Linked DNA regions of Homo sapiens: regions 1, 3 and 4 are each linked to region 2. The links are contacts of gene promoters, found by promoter capture Hi-C in human tissues and cell types (Jung and others, 2019). All regions are on one chromosome and are shown on one strand. Each heading gives the region's core, a stretch centred on a gene start or on the middle of the fragment in contact. The rest is flanking DNA. Distances are from core to core; before and after follow the strand shown.

Region 1 (5,075 bases), core at 640-3,139, 390 kb before region 2:
AAAAGCACCATACTCAGAGAATTGTCATTATCTATGTTGGTCTGTTAGTTTCCTGGAAACTCCATTAGGAGGTCTTGTCTTTATTTGACCTGAAACCTCACTTAATGTGAGCATCCTTTTCCACAACATATTTGTCAAACAATTCAGCAACAATCATTTAACATTGCAGCTGCCTGAGGCAGTGCTAACAGTTGTGGCAAAAAAAAAAAAAAAAAAAAAAAAAAAAAAAAAAAAAAGAAAAGAAAAAAAAGCAGCAGCTGAGAAGGAAGATAAATATATGGCAAATAAACACTTGAAAAGATACTTAACATCATTTTATTGGGAAATTCTGTATTAAAACAATAAAATGCCACTACTTATTATATTAGAATAGCTAAAATTCAATAAACTGACAATACCAAATGTTAATGAGGTTGCAGAGCAACAGGAATGCTCATTCATTGCTGCTGGGAATGCAAAAAGATGTAGCTACTTTGGAAGACAGTTTGGAAGTTTCTTACATCTTACCATATGATCCAATAATAGCACTCCTAGGTATTTACCCAATGATATGAAGAATTATGTCCACACTAGAACCTGCACGTGAACGTTTACATCAGCTTTATTTATAATCACAAAACACTGGAAACAACCAAGATGAATAGATAAGTGAATGGATAACCATACAATAGAATGTTATTCAGCAATAAAAAAGAAATAAGCTATCACCCATGAGAAGACGTGCATATTCCTAAGTGAAAGAAACCAGTCTGAAATGTCTACGTTTGTATGATTCCAATTATATAACATTCTGGAAAAGACTTAAACATAAAGACAGTTTTAAAAGTCATGGTTTCCAGGGATTTGGGGGTGGGGTGGTAAGGGATGAATAGATTAAACACAGAGAAATTTTAGGATGGGAAAACTATTCTGTATAATACTGTAATGGTGGATACATGACATTATGCATTTGTCAAATCCCAAGTGACTTTACAGTACAAAGAATGAGCCTTAATATATACAAATTATTTTAAAAAATCATTTAGGAGATTGGGGGAATTCCAGGAAAAAATACAAACTGTGAATAGAGAATCTAACTGTATTACAAATGCATGACATAACCTCACTGAAATGAGCATGCAAAAAAGGTGCTCGCCTAAGTAGCTTCAGAGTCTACACAACTGAAGGTAAAAGGAACTGCACATAAGCACTGTAGTCAATTAATTACAATAAAAAATGAAAGAAAAAATAAGAAAGAAAAAAGAGATAGAACTGGAGAAGGAGATGGCCATTGGGTGTTTAGAAAAGCTCTGACATATTTCTGGTAATCCAGAAGGCCACACACCTGCATAGGGTTTTGTGCATGCCCAGGAAAGAACTGAGAAGGCCTGAAGCTCTTACATCTAGCTAGCCTTGAGGTTTTACACAAGCAGAAAGTGAGGCTACAGCAGAGTTGTAGACTTCCTGCCAACATACATGCACAGAGACCCTTGAAAAAGGATTGGAAATGAATTGATTCCAATCATTTAAGAAAATGTCTATCCAATTATTATTTGATCACTAAGTGAACTAAGCAGAGACTTCAGTGATCACATAACAAAGTATCTACACGTTAAAGATTTTTTTCAGGAAAGTCACTAGACAACAAATTGTGATGATAACAACAAACTCTAGGGCAGGGGAAATCTGATTTCCAGAGTTGTCTAATTGCATTATGTAAAGTGCTTGGTTTCCCAAAAAAAAAAAAAAAAAAAAAACAAATAAACCAGGAGACATACAAAGGAAAAGGCAGCTATAGTTTATACACAGGTAAAGAAGCAGCCAACAAAAACTGTCCCTAAAGAATGTTGGGACATGATGTTGAGACAGCTGTTGGACTAATTAAAGATTTAAAATCAGGTATTTTGAATACATTCAAAGAATGAGAGGAAACCACACCTAAAGAATTAAAGGAAAGTATGCGAATTACATTGCACAGAATAGAGAATATCAGTAAATACCAGCATATGAATAACGGGATTACAAGAAGGAGGAGAGAGAGAGAGAAAAAATATTTGAAGAAATAATAGCCCAAGCTTTTTGACTTCCCAACTTTGATGAAAAACATTAATCAACATGTCTAAGAAACCTGGCAAACTCCAAGTAGGATAAACTCAAAGATAGCCACACCTAGACACAACCAACTGTTGAAATCAGCAAATAAGAAGTGACTCATCACATACAAGGGGTCCTCAATAATATCTGCCACCAATTTCTCATCAGAAACCATGGAGGCCAGAATGCAGTTGGATGAAGTATACAAATTATTAAAAGAAAAAGGACATCAAAAAATAATTCTATATCTAGCAAATCTATCCTTTATAAGTAAAGAACAAATTAAGATATTCTCACATAAACTAAAAGAGAGAACTCATCACTAGCAAACATGTCTTTCAAGAAATACTGTGAAATATGGGATTACAAGAAGTACTGTGAGTCCTTCAGGTTAAAATTAAAGGACATTAGACAGTAACTCAAATCCATTTGAAGAAATAAAGAGCATTGATAAAGGTAATTATATCAATAGTGTTATGGACTAAATTGTAGCACCCCAAAATTTATGTGTTGAAGTCCTAACACCCAGTACACCTCAGAATGTAACTATATTTGAAGATAGGGCCTTTAAAGAAGTCATTAAGATTAAATGATCCAATCATTATGGATGAGGGGTCGCCCTCATAGCTGGTGCCCTTATAAGAAGAGAGAGAGAGACACCAGGGATGTACACACATGAAGAAAAGGCCATATGAGGACATGGAAAGAAGGTAGCCATCTGCAAGCCAAAGGGGCCTCAGGAGAAACCAAACCTGCTGACACTCTGATCTTGGATTTTAGCCTCCAGAAATATGAGAAAATAATGCCTGTTGTTTAAACCACCTAGTCTGGAGTATTTTGTTATGGCAGCCTAGCAAATAATACAGTGGATAAATATAAAAGACAGTTTAAATGTATTTTTTTCATTTTTAACTCTGTTTTCTATCTGATTTAAAAGAAAACTGTATAAAATGATAATTATAAATCTGCATAAATGGACATATAATATATAAAGAGGTCATTTGTATGACAATAATAGCACCAAAGAAAAAGGAGAGAACAGAGCTATATAGAAGCCAAGTTTTTGTATACTACTGAGATTAAGTTGATATTAATATGTACTAGATTAATTATTTAAGATGTTATTTGTAATCCCCAGGGCAACCACTAAGGAATAACTCCAAAAGACAGTGAAATAAAGGACAAGAGAATTAAAATGATACACTAGAAAATATCTATTTAATGCAAAATAAGGTGTTAATAGAGAAATATGAAAACAAAAAAATGGTATATAGAAAGCAAGAGTAAACAGCAGACACAAATACTGACATTAGAAATATATTAAATTTAATAGATTAAGCACTCCAATCAAAAAGCAGAGATTGACAGGCAGGATTTTTAAAAGACATGATCCAGCTATATATTGTCTACAAGAGCTTTGGATCCAAAATCACAAATAAGTTGAAAGCAAAAGGATGGGGGAAAATATATCATACAGTTTAACCAAAAAAAGAGCTGCAGTGACTATACTAATATCAGACAAACTACAATTTAACCCAAAATTTATTATTAGAAATAAAGAAGGACATTTTATAATGATAAATTGGTCAATCCATCAAGAGGGCAATGATAAACCTATATGTACATGAATTGCACCTAATAACAGGCTTTAAAAAAACATGAAACAAAACCAGACAGAACTGCAGAGAGAAATGGACAATTCAGTAATTGGAGAGTTCACTGTCCCACTTCAATGATATATAGAACTAAATAGATGAACAAGAAAATAGAACACTTAAATAATACCATAAACTAACTAGACCTAACAGAACATTTCACACAACAGAATACACATTCTTCTCAAGTGTACATGGAACATTCTCCAGGATAGGTCACGTGCTAGGCCATTAAAAAGGATTGAAATAATACAAAATATGATCTCTGACCACAATGGATTGAAATTAGAAATCAGTAAAAGAAGGATATTTGAGAATTTCACAAATAAGTGGAAATTAAACAACATACTCTTAAATAATGAATGCGTCAAAGAAGACACCAAAAAGACAATTGGAAAATACTTTGAGGGCCAGGCCTGATGACTCATACCTGTAATCCCAGCACTTTGGGAGGGTGAGACAGGAGAATCACTTGAGCCCAAGAGGTTGAGACCAGCCTGGGTCACATAAGGAGATCCCATCTCTACAAAAAAAAAAAAAAAAAAAAAAAAAAAAAAAAATTAGCTGGGCATGGTGGTACATGCCTAGAGTCCCAGCTATTCGAAAGGCTGAGGTAGGAGGATCACTTGAGCCTGGGAAAAGGTTGAGGCTTCAGTGAGCTGTGATCATACCACTGAGGTCCAATCTGGGTGACAGAGCAAGACCCTATCTCAAAAAAATAAAAACAAAATACTTTTAGATGAATTAAAATGAAAACACAACATACCAAAACTTATGAAATGCAGCTAAAGCAATGCTTAGGGAGAAATATATAGCAGTAAATGCCTATCTTTAAAAAGCAGAAAAATCTCAAACCAATAACCTAACTTTCCACTCTAAGAAACTAGAAAAAGAGAAAACCAAGCCTAAAGAAAGCAGAAAGAAGGAAATAATTATTACAGCAAAAATAAATGAAACAGTGAATAAAAAATAGATAAAACCAAAGAAAGTTGATTCTTTGAAGACAACATTAGAACTGGCAAACCTCTAGCCAAGAAAAAAGACAGAAGGCTCAAATTACTAAAATGAAGAATGAAAAGAATGGCATTACTACTGATCTTACAGAAATAAAAAAGCATATAAGGGAATACTAGGAATTATTGTATGTCAACAAATTAGATAACCTGGTTAAGATGAACAAATGCCTGGAAGGACACAAACTACCAAAACTGACTCAAGAAGAAATAGAAAATTTGAATAGGTCTATAACAAGTAAGAGATTGAACTAGTAAGCAAAAAATGTCTTATAAAGAAAAGTCCAGTCCAATTGCTTTCACTGGTGAATTTTACCAAACTTGAAGAATTTTT
Region 2 (5,530 bases), core at 168-2,667:
TCAGTCAGAGTCCCCAGCTTAAGTCGGGGGTAATGGAGGAGGAGGAGAAATGAGAGACTGGAGGCCTCATTTTGGAAAGTGGGTTACTGAGGAAGAATCAACACTTAGTAGGGAGCAGAACCACCAAGGACTGCATGTGAGAGTTTGGAAAAGTTTTGAGACAGAAGATGGTAGTTGGGAGCATCTGTCATATAGTGTAGCATGAAAAATGCAGGGAGGGAGGGAGGCAGAGATCGGGAAAGATGATTTTAAAGCATGTTCTTGTATGTAATTAGTGTAATTCCCATTTTGCCATTTCCAAGAGTCCGGAGAAGATCCTAATTGATTTTCAACTACTTCCTAATGATACTTGCTAAGATGAACCCAGAGGGGTCGCTTTATCTATAAATACTTACTAAATATGATTATCTTCTCTGGAGCCCAGATCATCTTCCTTAAAGTTGCAGTGCAGTAGTGCCAATATTACGATATGCTATGCAGTAAAGTTGGCCCTGTGTGTGTTTATTGCCCTTACGAGTTTATAAACAGGCTCCTTGACGATAGGGATTTTTCTTAATCATCTTTGTGCCCTACCCAGCTCCAGCTTCCAGCCACCCAGTTAGTGAAAACTGTACAAACTACATGTTCAAAAATTAGTGTGAAATGAATGCACAGGTGATGAATGAATGGGATTGAAATTAAAGGGTGATTTCGTTAGCAGCGTCTATGACAGCACTGCCTTTCCCCCCACCAGCTGATGGGCTCCGTGAGGGACCAAGGCTCTTTGGTCCTCACTTTGTCCCCAGCACTTGCACTCTGTCAAGCACAAAATAAGCATCGGGAGAATCTTTGTGTCCCCTCGAATGAGTATTTCAGTGTATCAAGAATGGAAGAAAGGCCAAGCGCAGTGGCTCATGCCTGTAATCCCAGCACTTTGGGTCGAGGCGGGCGGATCACTTGAGGTCAGGAGTTATAGACCAGCCTGGCCAACGTGGTAAAACCCTGTCTCTACTAAAAATACAAAAAATTTAGCCCGGCGTGTTGACGGCCGCCTGTAATCTCAGCTACTCGGGATGCTGAGGCAGGAAAATCGCTTGAACCCGGGAGGTGGAGGCTGCAGTGAGCCTAGATCGTGCCACTGCACTCCAGCCTGGGCGACGGAGCGAGAGTCTGTCTAAAAAAAAAAAAAAAAAAAAAAAAAAAAAAAAGAATGGAAGAAAGCAAAACAATCCAAGGCCAAACTGAAGCGAGCTGCCTTGGTGGGGCTCCGGTGCAGAAGCGCAGCGTCGCCTGCTCTTGGGTGCCTAATGAACGACCGGACTCCTGCAGGCGCTCCGCCAACTGCAGCGATCTCTGGAGCCGGCCTGTCCTCCACAGAGATAGGGGGCGCTGTAGCAGAGCGCGGCCGTCGAGTCCGCGTGGTGCCGCTCTCTAGGCGGAGTGGGGAGGCGGCAAGAGGACCTGCGGCAGGCCCTCTTCGGCAGTCTCTCCGGCCCGGTTTCCCTCGGCGTGCTACTGTGCGCTCGATCCAGCACCATGGGGAAGCGGGACAATCGGGTGGTGAGTACTCAGCCGGGAAAACAGTGGGGCGACGCAGGGCCCGGCGGCAGGACAGCGAGAACCCTCGCTGTTCCCGGCCGGGCCGGAGGGCAAGCGGCAGCCCTCAGACGTGGGGCCTGGAGACCCAGCACCCTCCGCCGATCCCAGATGCGCGTGCGCCGCGCACGCAGTTGGCGCTTTAGGGTTCCCAGCTCTCTCTTGCCCGCCCCTTTTTTCTTCCCTCACCTCGTCGCTCTTTCTGGCGCTGCTGGTTTGCACTCTTGCCTGCTGTACGCGGGCCCCCAGTGCCCACTTAGAACCGCGAGGGCTCGGGGAACCCCCCCCACACCTGGCCCCGCCATGTAACTCCGAAGACTTAGGCCCTTGGACGCATCCGACTCACCCGCCCCTTGGTATCGGCCGCCCCAGGTCCGCACCCCTCTCCTGCGCACCCAAGTGGGAGGGAGGCACAGAGGCCTCGACGCGGTCCCTGTGCCGGAGAGCCAGCAGCGCGCCTGGTTTTAGCGACAAGCAGGCTCCCGTTTGAAAATGGGATGGCAGCATTTGCTTTCGTGTCTCCAGCGCCCTGTAGGACCTGGCCCCCATAGACACTGTGAGGGAATGAATGGCGTGAAAATAGTTGGCTTTCGAGTCCAACACAAAACTGGAATGTCAGTTTTGTTCCGTCGGAAGTTGGGTGACCTAGAACAAGTTACTTTTCTTCTCTGTGCCGTCGTTTATAAAAGGGGATCATTATTATCTACAACCTTACAGATTAATTGAAATCACAAAAGGCAAGATGTGTGAGCGAGTACTGGGCATGAAAATTATTACTCTAGTGAATGAGATAAAAGAGATGCATAAATAACTTACAGCAGAAAGAGTAGGAAATGGTCCTTGATAGTTGTTAGAGATTCTAAAGGCATTCAAAAGAAAAGGTGCTTTTGAGAAGCGGAGATGGGAGGAAAGTATTCTAGACCGCTGGGGCGGGGAGGGGGCTGAAAAACTCAGGTTATGAATCAGATTGAATGAGTAGTAAACATAATGAAATAACAATAAGCTTAGGTTGCAGCCTGACAATTTCTGGGCTTGCCTGTGACAAAGTTTTAGCCACTGAGTAGCAAAATGAGGAAAATGCACGTAAAACGAATGTGCTACGTTTCTTGAACTCGCTTTTTTATTCAACAATTATTTGCAAGCTGTGTGTGTCTCACACCAAAGGAGACTTAACATTTACGAAATGATGACACTTGCCATCTGTAGTAGCCAGTTCTTGCATGGCTTTTATAAAGAAAAACCTGAGGCTGGGTAATTTATAAAGAAAAGTGTTTAATTGGCTCACGGTTCTATGGGCTGTACAGGAAGCTTAGCGGCATCTGCTTCTGGGGAGGCCTCAGGGAGCTGTTACTCATGGTGGAAGGCAAAGCAGGAGCAGGCGTCTTACATGGCAGGAGCGGGACCAAGAGAGGGACGGGGAGAGTTGCTACACAGTTTTAAACAACCGCATCTGTTGAGAAATCATCTCTATGCAGTGCTGGGGAGAGGAGGATGCTAAGCCATTCATGAGAACTCCGCCCCCATGATCCAGTCACCTCCCACCAGGCCCCACCTCCAACATTGGGGATTACAATTCGACATGAGATTTGGGCGGGGACACAGATCCAAACCATTTCACCATCTTAAAAACTTTGTAGTTCTGTATAGTCTTTATAATGGAAAATGTCTAGGAACCACTGTGGTAGTGAATCTTGATTACAAGATAGCGGGTTGTTCTTTCTCCTGGCTGTAGGTGAGACTTTGTTGTGCTATCTTGATTGTCATGGCGTTGAAATTATGTAGCATAACACCATTTCAGCATAGGAGCATCCTTAGGTGTTTGAGTATTTTGGGCTCTTCTAATACCCTTGGGCCTTGAATGTTTAGAGATCACCTGACCTTGGATGCAGTTTCATATACAGACCTAAAATGTTTCATATTACTGAAAAAACGTTTTGGTTGAAACATTCCTCTAAAACATTTGAAAAACTTACCAAATTAGCTTCATTTACTAGAACATTTTGATAGCTCTGGGCTCTACTTACTACTTTTGGTATGCAGCTATGGCACAGAGTATTCTGGTAACATTTTGTGTGCACTTCAAAGATTGGGATTAAGAACAAGAAATTAAGAGGTAGAAGACACGGATTGTCTAATTCAGTCTCCTCATTGCATAGAGGAGGGGTAAGACTTTAAACTGGGACCAAAACTTCAGTCATCTGACACTCAATTCTGTACATCTTAACTCTTGATTTTCTTTTTAAGACTTTTTTTTTTAAGCATTTTTAGTTTTACAGCAAAATTGAGAGGAAGGTACAAAGATATCCCGTTTACCTCCTGACCCCACTCGTGCATAGCCTCCCCATTATGAACATCCTTCACCAGAGTGGTACATTTGTTAAAATTGATGAACCTACATTGACATGTTACTATCATCCAGTCAGTAGTTTACATTAGTGCTCACTCTTAGTGTTCATTCTCTATGGGCTTGGACAAATAAATTTATTTATTTATTTATTTAGACACAGTATCTCACTCTTGCCCAAGCTGGAGTGCAGTGTCGCCATCATGGCTCACTGCAGCTTCAACTTCCCAGGCTCAAGGGATGCTCTCACGTCAGCCTCCCAAGTAGCTGGGACCACAGGTGTGTGGAACCACACCTGGCTAATTTTTTGTTGTTTTTTTGTAGAGATGGGGTTTCACCATGCTGCCCAGGCTGGTCTCAAATTCCTGGCCTCAAGCAATCCTCCCGTCTCGGCCTCCAAAAGTGTTCGGATTACAGGAGTGCCACCACATGCGTTCACCAATATAGTATCATAAAGAGTAAAAATCCTCTCTTCGGCCTAGCCATTCCTCTACCACCCCTGTCCCCAAGTGTGGCAACCACTGATCTTTTTACTGACTCCATAGTTTTGCCATAACACTTGATTTGGAGCAACAAAATGAATATTTGCTTGTGAAAATATTGGCATTTTTTGAGATTGTCTCAAAAACAGTTCCTGTTCTTTCTTACATTGATGAAACAATCATAGTTTTAAAGATGATAGGATTGCTTTCCAAAAAAAGCCCCAGTGAATTTCAGGTTGAACAGTTTTTTTAATTTTTATTTTTAGAGCAGTTTTAGGTTCACAGCCAAATTGAACAGAAAGTACAGAGGGTTCCCATATACCTCCACACTTGTGCAGCTCTACCATTATCAACATTCGCCAGCACCAGCAGGGTGGTACATTTGTTACATTTCATGAACCTACATCGACACATTATCATCACCCAGAGTCAGTAGTTTGCATTAGGGGTCACTCTTGGTATGCATTCTTGTACAGTTTTTATAACTGAACGTTTTAATTCAGGACTTGTAAAGGGCTCTTAAGTTCATGATGGCCACCTTTTGTGCTTGTTATTTTCCGAAGTGTTCTTCATGTTCTTTTCTGCTACTTTGGGACCTCTAAAATAGATGTATCCTCTAGATAAAAATAGGTAATCAAATTGACAAATGAAATTCTGCACATTGTGTCTTTAGCCAGTTTTACTGCATTGCTCTTTTTGTACCTGCCCCCATACATATCCCCTTGAGACCAATTTGCCATCCTGAGTTTCAGAAACAAATCATTTTCTGTTATCTGAACTCATGCAGCAGTTTGAAGCCACAGAGAATTCTAGTTACATATGGATGTGAATGTTTGATTTACAAGGTCACAGTGTTTATAATGATTAAGTCATAGTGAAATGTTTCAAGAAATTGCACAATCTCTATATTTTAGTGAATGCTTAACCATGCCACCCACTTAATGTTAGAAGCATTATTTTTCACACTGATACAAAAATGAAAACTCCTGTACCTTTGTGAAAATAGTTGCTTGTTTTAAAAGCTTTCTGTTGTGCATAGTTTTAAAGAAAAGTATTGTTGCTTAATGAATAAGAGCAGACTATCAAGTGTTTTGCATGGAGCCTAGAACATAAGATGCACTTTAAAAAA
Region 3 (5,277 bases), core at 133-2,632, 360 kb before region 2:
CTCCATCTTAAATATGCCTGGTTTCTCTCTCCACCGCTCCACTCAAACGATTCACATCAGGGTCAACAGTCCTTTTTTTTTTTTAACTAAATCCTATTAATACTCCTCATTTGGGTTCCAGCTCAGACTCTGAAATGAGTCTGCCTCTTTGATTTATACTCTCTTTACAAGTCTCCAAAGTTTCTCAAAAAGTTAACATAGAATCGTCAAAAGGCCTAGCAATTCCGCTGCTAGATATATACCCAAAGGAAAGGAAAGGACAGACTCAGATACGTGTGCACCAATGTTCATAGCAGCATTATACATGATAGTCAAAAGGTGAAAATGACCCAAAACTCCAGCAATGGATAAGAAATATGGGTATATTACATACAATGGAATATTATTCAGCCTTAAAAGGAAATGAAATTCTGATACAAGCTACAATATGGATGAACTTTGAAGACATGCTGAGCAAAAGAAGCCAGACACAAAAGGGCAAATATTCTGTGATTCCACTTATATGGGATACATAGAATAGGAAAATTCACAGAGACAGAAAGTAAAATAGAGGTCACCAAGGGCTAGGGAAAGGAGAAATGGGCAATTATTGTTTAAGGGGTACAGAGTTTCTATTTGGCATGATGAAAAAGTTCTGGAAATGGCTAGTGCTGATGGTTGTTCAACACTGTGAATATATTTAATTGCCACTGAGTTGCAACACTTAAAGATGGCTAAGGTGGTTAATTTTGCATTATGTATATATTACCACAATAAGAAACAAAACTGTGTAAAATATTAAAATTCCTGAAATATAAAAACATTCATAGTCAACAGAGAAAAATCAGCCTCATAACTCCCTTTTGTTCAATAAGAATCTCATTCTGGGAGAACACCCGAAGTGGGGAATTCCCAATCAAGGGAGGCGTCCTCATCAAGCATATTGGAAAGAGCTTTCCACTTAAACTTATCTCTAGTCCTTCGGGTTACACAGCCACACCTCATTTTACCAGTACCAATATTTCTGTAAAGTTGTAAGCTAAATCATATCTTCCCAGGTCATAACCGAGGTTATATAGGCAGAGGGGTTTTATCTAAATGAAAATTGCTCTTCAGGTGGTGGCATTGCTCCAAGTTTTCCCTTTGGGTTTATCTCATCCTTTTCTTCCCCTACCTAACACTCCTCTACAAAGAGGATAGTGATTTCTAAACAAATAGGTAAGCAAGGAGAGAGCCAGCTATTTGTAAAATCAGAAGGGGCATCAAAGGGAAGAGGCAACATAGTCCACTCCAGTAAGCACAGATTAACTCTTTTATCGAGCATTAAGTTTGTCAATGCTCCAATTCCCTGCCTGTGGTGTATTTTATACTTGTATAATATACTGTCAGTCATGAATGACCTGCTCCCTATGCCCAGATCTTCTGTAACAGCAGGGAGCCAAATCAGTGAGGGTGATTTCTCTGACTTTTCAAATGCAACACATTATTTGTTAGTACTCATTGGCGATGTCCCTATTGCCTGACAAGAAAGTCCTTACCCCAAAGCCTCACAATTTCCAAATCCCAAGTAAAGCATCTTGCTCCCTCAAAGAGTTTTCTATAAGTCTATCATAGGAGAAAGCCTCTAGTGTTTCAAATTATGAATTTTTCGTGGGGGTTGGTAGTGCTTGGGAGCGCCTTGTAAAATTCTCACAAGATAAGTAAGATATTCAAAATTCTGCCTAGGATAATTATTACTGTTTTGCGTTTGGTGGATTTGAGGGAGGATACATCAAAGCAATGAGGCTTTGCAGTATACCAAGTCATTAAGGCCTGAATGTGGGCTGTGGTAGCAGAAAAGGAATGATTCCAAAAGTATTAAAAACATGAGACAAGAGGACACTTTGTATCTAAAGCATTCATTACTCTGAGCATCTTTTCCTTAGCTTTTCTGAGTTACCTGATGGCATGGGAGCAAGTTTCCCATTAGAAAGCCTCTTTTGCTTTCTGTCCTTTTTTTTTTTTTTTTTTTTTTTTTTTTATGGCCACAGAGCTCTCTACTCCCATGGAATTTCATGGAGATCCCATGAAACTGTGCATGAATTGTGCCTTCTCCAGAGACACTCCCTCGTGCACACGACACTGGGCCCGATTTTGTAACTGCGTTTATGACTGATTTACGGAACTTTTACTTGGCAGGCCCTGCTGTTACTGTTAGCTGGTTACTATGGCTCTTTCAACATGCCACTCTGGCATGTTGCATTAAAAATAACCTCCCAAGACTGTACAGAATACATAGAACAACGAGAGTACAGTCATAGCTGCAGATGCCAGGGTCTGCTCTGGTGCCTGTGTGTTCACATGTGCTCCTAGGTGAAGTAACTACAGAAAAATCATTCAAACACCTTCTAAAACATCCACTTGCATCACAATTTTTCTAAGCTTCCCCAAAGCAGAGGTTCTCAGAGATCAACAACATCCCAAACAACTGTGAACCCTAAGAATAACAAAACACAAATGATAAGTGTTTTTTAAGGGCACAGATCCAAAGTCACCGTGTCTGGGTTTGAATCCAGGCTTTCACACGTAACTAGCCCTGGGATCTTGGCAAGTTATACCACAGCCACAGCTATCTCCTCTGCAAAACTGAGTGATAACATCAATCTCAAAGCGTTGTTCTGAGAATTAAGGGTGCTATCCAAGGAAAAGTTCTTGATTCAGTATTAACACATAGAAGGTGCTCAATAAATAGATTATTCTCCTTTGAACTTCTTTGAACAAGTATTTGCTTAATAAATATTTGTTGGCTGAAAGATTAACACCCAGCTATTCATGTACATGTCTCATCCCATTTTCTAGATTATCTAGTTCTTTAGATAAGTTATATTTCATTCATCTTTGTATTTCACAGCTCTTTGATTGTTGCTGAATAAATATTTATTAAATTAAATGGAAAGATAAAGTCTGTTGTAAGGGACAACAGTTAGTATGTAAACGGGTAGCAAAAAAGAAAAATCACAGGCTTTAAGTGCAAATAGAATCCAGTGCCAAGAAAACACTGATGTTCCCTGAAACTAAATGAATACAAGCTACACATGAATACAATATTTGTAATGCTAGATCTGGTTCAGCGACTCTGGTTCTAGCTGGGTACTGCAGAGAAGAGAAAAGCATTTATCTCTATCCCACCCTTGGCCTCAGCCCATGAGCCAGGCTTGCCCACAACTCAAGAGAAGAATTGCTCTCCCAGAGCCAGACACCACAGTCACCACAAGCTAAGTAGTTTCCTTATGCCATTGAAAGCATCATTGGATTTGGTGACAACAACACAAGCAGAAGACTTCTGCTGAGGACACAGGGCCAGCATAGTATAGACTGTGCCCTGGGTTCCACTATTAGTGCTCAAATCAACATGAACAGAGCTGTGCCCGTGCAGAGGGAGACAAGGCCATCTCCTCCTTTAGGAAAGCCAGGGGCCACTATGGATCCTAACTGGAGAAAACACTAATAGGGTTCTGTGACTGTGACTCCTGTCTAACCCCCAGAGCCAAACTGAAAATAATAAATCTGTTAAGAGACAGAGTGTGTGTATGCATTTGTGTAGGACACTGTTTCCTTCTTTTCTGATAGGATATCAACGCCTCCAGCCAAAGACTACCAAAAACACAACTGTAGTTGATTAAGTTAGGTTTATTATGCATTGCTGCATGGGATAACATTCATTATGGGGAAACCATGAGGCACCCAGTAAGATGGTGTTAGAAATAACCTATTATAAAATTTGGGCTTGAGTTCTTTGGGGAGGCTCTAGGGATGGGTAAGTTCATTTTAGATTGGATTCTGTCAGACAGTGGGGACAATTCTATGATTAGGTATCTCAATAAATCTTATCTATAGGAAAAGCAGAGTAAAGCAAAGATAAAGCTGTAATTGCCAAAGAAGTAACAGTCCATTACATTAGGCAGGAGAGGGAAAGGTTTGATAACTTGTGACTTTGTATTAGTCTGTTCTCATGCTGCTAATAAAGACATACATGAGACTGGGGTAATTCACAAAGGAAAGAAGTTTAATTGACTCACAGTTCCACACAGCTGGGGAGGCCTCACAATCATGATGGAAGGTGAAAGTCACATCTTACATGGCAGCAGACAGGAGAGAGAATGAGAGTCAAGTGAAAGGGGTTTCCCTGTATAAAACCATCAGATCTTGTGAGAGTTATTCACTACCACAAGAACAGTCTGAGGGAAACCACCCCCATGATTCAATTATCTCCCACCAGGTCCCTCCCACAACACGTGGGAATTATGGGAGCTAAAATTCAAGATAGAGATTTGGGTGGGGACACAGCCAAACCATATCAGACATGGACAACGTTAATGTTTTGTCTGTGTTCAAACATGATTATAGAGTCATTGTCTTGATCCATCATGGTCACAGAGTGGGTCTTATTTGATGGGGCATGTTCTGTGAAGTTTACATCCAACAAGAGAAAACCAAGACCTAGTTGTGAACACCAGGCCACCTGGGAACACCAAGGCCTCACTGACTGTACCTGGAATAAAGCAGGATGCCAAGAGCTGCCTTCTCTTTCTTGAATGTCACTAAGGCAATAGAAAAGTGGTAGAACAAGTGGAAATGTATTTCAACAAATCTCCTGATAAAGTGTCTTGAGCTTGGTACAGCTACACATTTTAACTGACTGATGATGGTACCCAATGAGTACTGATTGAATATCAGGCTGAGGTCAACCTGCACTATCTACTGATATGCCACAGTGTCATCCTTGGTTCTTTCTTGTCAATTTGCTTATCATTGAAGGCCTGTGTTCAAAATCTAAGAAGATAGTAACTATCTTAGTTGGCAGATTCTGAATCAAAAAATAATCTCCATAGGCATTAATGATGGCCTGAATCAAATAAAATGAACTTTAATAACAATTCATGTAAAGCACTAAATTGGGGTTCAAAACAAATTAATACAAGGACAAAATGGAAGATGTATGGCTGGGAAGCAACAGAAGGGAAAAAATTAATGGTTTAGCAGCTGGCTATGTTTTATTGCAGTCAACAGTGGCCACTAAGAAAAGTAGTGTAATTTTAGATTGCATTAATGGAAGTATGGAATCTTCAATAAAGGAACTGACAATCCTATCCATTCTACATGGGTCTCACAATACCTAAAATTCTGTGTTCAGTTCTGGGCATTACATTTTTGAAGAATATAATGTCTCAATCAGAGAAAGTGACGGATTCTCCTTCACTTAGAAACTCAACATGGGTCACGCCAAAACAAAAACACGAAATCATAAGAGGAGTAATT
Region 4 (5,489 bases), core at 1,821-4,320, 470 kb after region 2:
GAAATCCAGAATATTTACTGATATTCTTTTTATTGACAAATATAATTGGAAAGCCAGATGATCATTGGAAGTTCATTTAGTGAATGTGGAATTAACAGGAAATTAATTGGATAATTTTTATTAGTTGTCATCAAATTATGCTTGCCTGGTGCATTTGTCTCCAGTGTTGGGATATACTAATTGGTGATTATAGTTTTCTTTTACATATCGCCAGTAATTCCATTTTGGCCCTGATCTTCCTACTTTTAACCTGGGAAATAATCTGATCTTTGGCTACTATTCCTTGGGAAGTACCTTATTATTGTCATATGCACTATAAATAACCTTTTTTCTGCTTTTGTTATTGTGACCTGGAAATCAAATAACCACATTTATTCTTTTCATGATGAAGTGCTCATGAGTGGGGTTTTGAGATGTGTTTCTGGGATCTGTTTTGGCTGTTTAGAGGGACAGGGTGCTTCACATTGTTTGGTTTATTGCCCCTCTTTGTTGTTGTACATAGTCACATGTCTGTCTACAGACTTTTTTTGATGATATGAATAGGATCTTGTTTCTTCTTGAGTTCTGTTTTTAATTCTCAATTTTCTTTCACTTTTTGGAAATAGTAATGAGAATAATCTTTTTTTTCTCCCTAGATGTGTTTGAAGCTCTTTCTGAGCTCATAATTTTAACAGCTAGCCATTGTTTGCATGGAAAGGAAATCAGAAGTCAACTCAATGAAAAGGTAGCACAGCTGTATGCAGATTTGGATGGAGGTTTCAGCCATGCAGCCTGGCTCTTACCAGGTTGGCTGCCTTTGCCTAGTTTCAGGTATGGATAAAGAATATATTACACTAGGTTATTTAACTTTGTATAATTATTGTAGTGTTGGTATGCTTTGCCTTAACAAAGATAAAAATTAAACAAGTAAAACATACAAAATGGGTAAGATTATGAATCCCCTTTCTTCTATAAGAATTCAAGACAAATTTTCTTTATATAATGAGCTCATTTAAAGTAAGTTTCAGTTTATTAAAAAGGTGATTTGTTGTCTGTCTAGTCTAATATTTTATTTATGTTTTTGTTTTTGAGATGGAGTCTTGCTCTGTTGCCCCAGCTGTAGTGCAGTGGTGTGATCTCGGCTCACTGCAGTCTCTGCCTCCTGTGTTCAAGCAATTCTCCTGCCTCATCCTCCTGAGAGCTGGGACTACAGGCACGTGCCACCATGCCCAACTAATTTTTCTATTTTTAGTAGAGACAGGGTTTCATCATGTTGGCCAGGCTGGTTTCAAACTCCTGACCTCAGGTGATCCACCTGCCTCAGCCTCCCAAAGTGTTAGGATTACAGGCGTGAGCCACTGAGCCCAGCCTAGTTTAAAAGCCTGCTTACCTCACGTATTCCTTATCCTCAGGAAAGTCTCTGAACTATACCTAAAAGTGATACAGCTCTTCTCTAGCACTTGTTTGAAATCTTTGGTGGCTTTTTATTGTATTGTGAAGTTTCTTTGTTTTAAATATTTGTGCCTTTATTTAATTTTCTGTTTCTTAAGGACAGGGACTGCCTCTGATATAAAGAAATATTGCTCTTAGGACTTGATCTATAGCTTAGTGCTTAGTGTTTTGCATATTAGTAGGCTTTCTGTACTTTTGTTGATTTATTGGTGTTTAGGTGACAGATGGGGAGGAGATAGATTGCTAGTCCCTTTTCTTCTATTTCTGCCCCCTCTATCTAGTTACAGATTGGAAGAGGGGTGGGAGTAAAAGGAAGAGCCAGGAGAGATTCCCTAAAGTTCTCTGGAACTCATCATACCTTATATTTGCAAGGAGCTTTGCAGTTTCAAAATGTTTTCATATATCTTATATTAGAACACCCAGCACAGCCCTGGACTCATAGTGGGTTCTCCATAAATGTGCATTTCTTTTTTTTTTTTTTTTTTTTGGTGATGGAGTCTTGCTCTCTCGCCCAGGCTGGAGTGCAGTGGCATGAGCTCGGCTCACTGCAAGCTCTGCTTCCCAGGTTCACGCCATTCTCCTGCCTCAGCCTCCCGAGTAGCTGGGACTACAGGCACCCGCCACCAAGCCTGGCTAATTGTTTTGTACTTTTAGTAGAGATGGGGTTTCACCGTGTTAGCCAGGATGGTCTTGATCTCCCGACCTTGTGATCCGCCCGCCTCGGCCTCCCATAGTGCTGGGATTACAGGCGTGAGCCACTGCACCTGGCCCATAAATGTACATTTCTACCTGCCTGTTTCTACCTGCTCTGTCTCTTGGATGAAGTCAGAGCTTGCTATGTTAGGCCCTTCACATTCTGGCCCAGTCTTTCTTTCTTCTACTCATACCAACTAATTTAACCAGATTATTCAATTCACTTTCTTAAACAGGCCTATGTTTTCCTGGTTCGACTGTATTCATACAGTTAAGCCCCAACATCTTCTCTTCTGTACACATGGTTTCAGTTGATCCTCAATAACAGATTAACAGTCTTGTAAATGAAACAGAGTAGGAGTTTTTTTTAGAAGGCTTGATTTAAGAGGGGGCTTGGGAGTCAGACTGCCTAGTTTTAAATTCCAGCTCCAATGTTTGCTTTCTGTGTGATCTTATGCAGCTAGCTATAACTTGAGGTTAATAGTATGTACCTCACAGGAAGATAAAAGTGAGTAATTCATGTAAAACACTTAACATGGTACCTGCTACATAGTGAACATACTATTTAAAGGTAAAGTTTAGGAGTTGAAGCTTGTTTTCTGAATCTGCTAGTATTTTCACCCCCTACAAAAAACTATTGTATTAGAAAGTGAAAAGTAGAACCAGATTCCATGGAAGAACCAGAGTGACTCTTCTGCTTTAAGACTTGATTTGGTATTAAAATTGGAATTTTATGTTAATTTAAAAGAGTATCCTACTTTCTGTTGAACTGGAAAATACTTCTAAAGGAATTTCTTGCTTGTTTTAGGCCTTTAGTTTGAACACAGGCAATGTGTTAAGAATCTGGGATATATATGTTAAATAAAGCACAGTTCTTGCCCTTAGGGACTATGGACATTTTTAACAATGTAAGATTTTCATGACTTCCAGTATGTTCCTGGTTCTGATTTTTTTGTCAATTATTTTAGAGTCATTAAAGTTGGTTAAATAAGATGCTTTATGCTCGGTCCTGGTTCTCAAAATGAATTTGATCCTAGAAGGTTATTTCTTTATTTAAGAAAATCATCTTTATCTTTTAATTACAGACGCAGGGACAGAGCTCATCGGGAAATCAAGGATATTTTCTATAAGGCAATCCAGAAACGCAGACAGTCTCAAGAAAAAATTGATGACATTCTCCAAACTTTACTAGATGCTACATACAAGTAAGAGCTATTCAGATAACATATTAAGCTGAAGCAGGAAATTACACATTAAAACACAGTTAAATAGTATTTCCAGTTAAAAAACAGTGATGCTGGCAAAATAAGTTGGTAGCTGTGATCTTTGGACTCTTTAAATTGTTGAGACATAAACTATTGGCATCCTGTGTCTTACTGTAATCCCAGTGACTGGGTATGGTAAAAGTTTGCTAATGAACTGTAATGGAGTCTTTTGTAATCAAAATCGTTTTGTGCTGGTCTGTCTCTTCCCTAAGAGAAAAAAAACTCTTGACTTGTGATAGTCAAATATAAGAGACCACTATACCTGAAAAATGTATTCATTATGACACTTTATTTAAAGGTTGAGGCATGAAATGTATCTGCCAAAATGTTAAATTTGTGTCTTTGGTTCATTCCTTAGGGATGGGCGTCCTTTGACTGATGATGAAGTAGCAGGGATGCTTATTGGATTACTCTTGGCAGGGCAGCATACATCCTCAACTACTAGTGCTTGGATGGGCTTCTTTTTGGCCAGAGACAAAACACTTCAAAAAAAATGTTATTTAGAACAGAAAACAGTCTGTGGAGAGAATCTGCCTCCTTTAACTTATGACCAGGTTTGTTGGATTTTTCAGTTTCATTGCTGCCTTATGACTTTGAGGATCTGTGGCTAATTTTTAAAAGGGACAATTTGAGATTTTCTATATACTATAGCTTAAATTGATCAGCTTCTCTATTTTTAGCAAATTCCCTATAACCTTACCTAAAATATCTTAATGTTATTGCTTCTTGCCATTAAGCTTTATCAGATATGTTTTGGGTTGATGGCTTAGAGATCCTTGGGGATGTTTCTTTGGTACTTACTTCCTCTGCTTCAAAGTCTGGCTTCTGTACATAGAGGATATTATGTGCATGTTGTGTGTCTTATGAAGTGTAGAAGCCTCTGAATTACTTAGAATTCTGTATGTCCAGAGTGGCCTGGGCATGAGCAGAGACTTCTAAAAGTAGTAGTAGTAGTAGTAATGAGGACAAGACATTTACAAATACTACATGCAACTTGCTGGGTGGAAAGGAAGAGAGGACAACTCACTGCACAACCTGACATTCCATCTTGGAAGCAAACCTTGGTGATGTCATCTTCCTGTTATCTTTTGTGCTTTTGGTCCTATATTAATATGGCACATTACACTGATTTTCAGATGTTAATTGTATTCCTGGGATAAATCCTACTTTGTCATGGTGCATAGTTCTTTCTATATGTTACTACATATAAACTTGCTGGTGTTTTGTTGAGGATTTTTGCATCTATATTCATAAAGGATATTGATCTCTAGTTTCACTGTGATGTCTTTGACTGGTTTTGATATCAGGATCATACTCATCTCATAGAATGTATTTGGAAGTATTCTTTTTTTCTTCTAATTTTTGGAAGAGTTTGTGGATGATTGGTGTTAATCCTTTTTTACATATTTGCAAAAATTCAGCAGTGAAATCATCTAGATCTGTGCTTTTCTTTCTGAGAAGACTTTACTTACTAATTCAATTTATTTGTTACAGGTTTATTCAGATATTCCATTTCTTCTTATGTCAGTTTCAGTAGTTTATATCTCTCTAGGAATTTGTCCATTTCATCTAGGTTACCTAATTTGTTGGCATACAATTGTTCATAGTATTCTCATAATCCTTTTTATTTCTGTAAGCTCAGTAGTGATGTCTCAACACTCATTCTTGTTTTTAGTAACTTAAAATAACAGCTTAACTGATATATTTACATAGCATAAATCCATCCATTTAAAATGTACACTTTGTGGTTTTTAGCATATTAAGAGTTGGGAAACCATCATCATAATTTAATTTTAGAACATTTACATCACTCCCAAAAGAGAGCTGGTACCCATTAGCAGTCATGCTTCATTCTCCCTGACTGCTGCCCCTGGCAACCATTAATCTCCTTTTGCCTCTGTGAGTTTGCCTATTCTGGATATTTCATGTAAATGGGATCATACAATTTGTAGTCTTTTGTGACTACCTTGTTTCACTTAGCATGTTATCAGGGTTCTTCCATGTTGTAGCATGTATCAGTACTTCAGTCTTTGTTATTACCAATAATATTCCATTATATGGATAGACCACATTTTGTTTATTTGTTCATCAGTTGATGGA

Evidence for each region. The method cuts DNA at HindIII sites, captures the fragments that hold promoters and counts their contacts. A contact is called where the count stands out against the background at its distance.
Region 1: a contact is called between a fragment that was not itself captured here and the fragment with the promoter of FAM133B in region 2, in 1 of the 25 tissues and cell types used here (IMR-90 fibroblasts).
Region 3: a fragment that was not itself captured here is called in contact with the fragment with the promoter of FAM133B in region 2 in 1 of the 25 tissues and cell types used here (aorta).
Region 4: a fragment that was not itself captured here is called in contact with the fragment with the promoter of FAM133B in region 2 in 1 of the 25 tissues and cell types used here (pancreas).

The regions. Positions count from the first base shown.
Region 1 is chr7:92,977,646-92,982,720 of GRCh38, reverse strand. No RefSeq gene overlaps it. Among named protein-coding and RNA genes, the nearest start is that of SAMD9, 140 kb to the left of the region's middle. The HindIII fragment of the contact is 5,699 bases long and covers 1-4,738 here.
Region 2 is chr7:92,586,277-92,591,806 of GRCh38, reverse strand. It overlaps FAM133B (family with sequence similarity 133 member B), which reads left to right and starts at 1,417. Exons shown (of 11, transcript NM_152789.4): 1 at 1,417-1,539. The coding sequence starts at 1,516. RefSeq lists enhancers at 1,260-1,539, 1,630-1,689. The HindIII fragment of the contact is 9,030 bases long and covers 1-2,731 here.
Region 3 is chr7:92,941,731-92,947,007 of GRCh38, reverse strand. No RefSeq gene overlaps it. Among named protein-coding and RNA genes, the nearest start is that of CDK6, 110 kb to the right of the region's middle. The HindIII fragment of the contact is 7,796 bases long and covers 1-5,277 here.
Region 4 is chr7:92,121,574-92,127,062 of GRCh38, reverse strand. It overlaps CYP51A1 (cytochrome P450 family 51 subfamily A member 1), which reads left to right. Exons shown (of 10, transcript NM_000786.4): 5 at 636-810; 6 at 3,210-3,329; 7 at 3,748-3,943. Among named protein-coding and RNA genes, the nearest start is that of CYP51A1, 10 kb to the left of the region's middle. The HindIII fragment of the contact is 6,060 bases long and covers 41-5,489 here.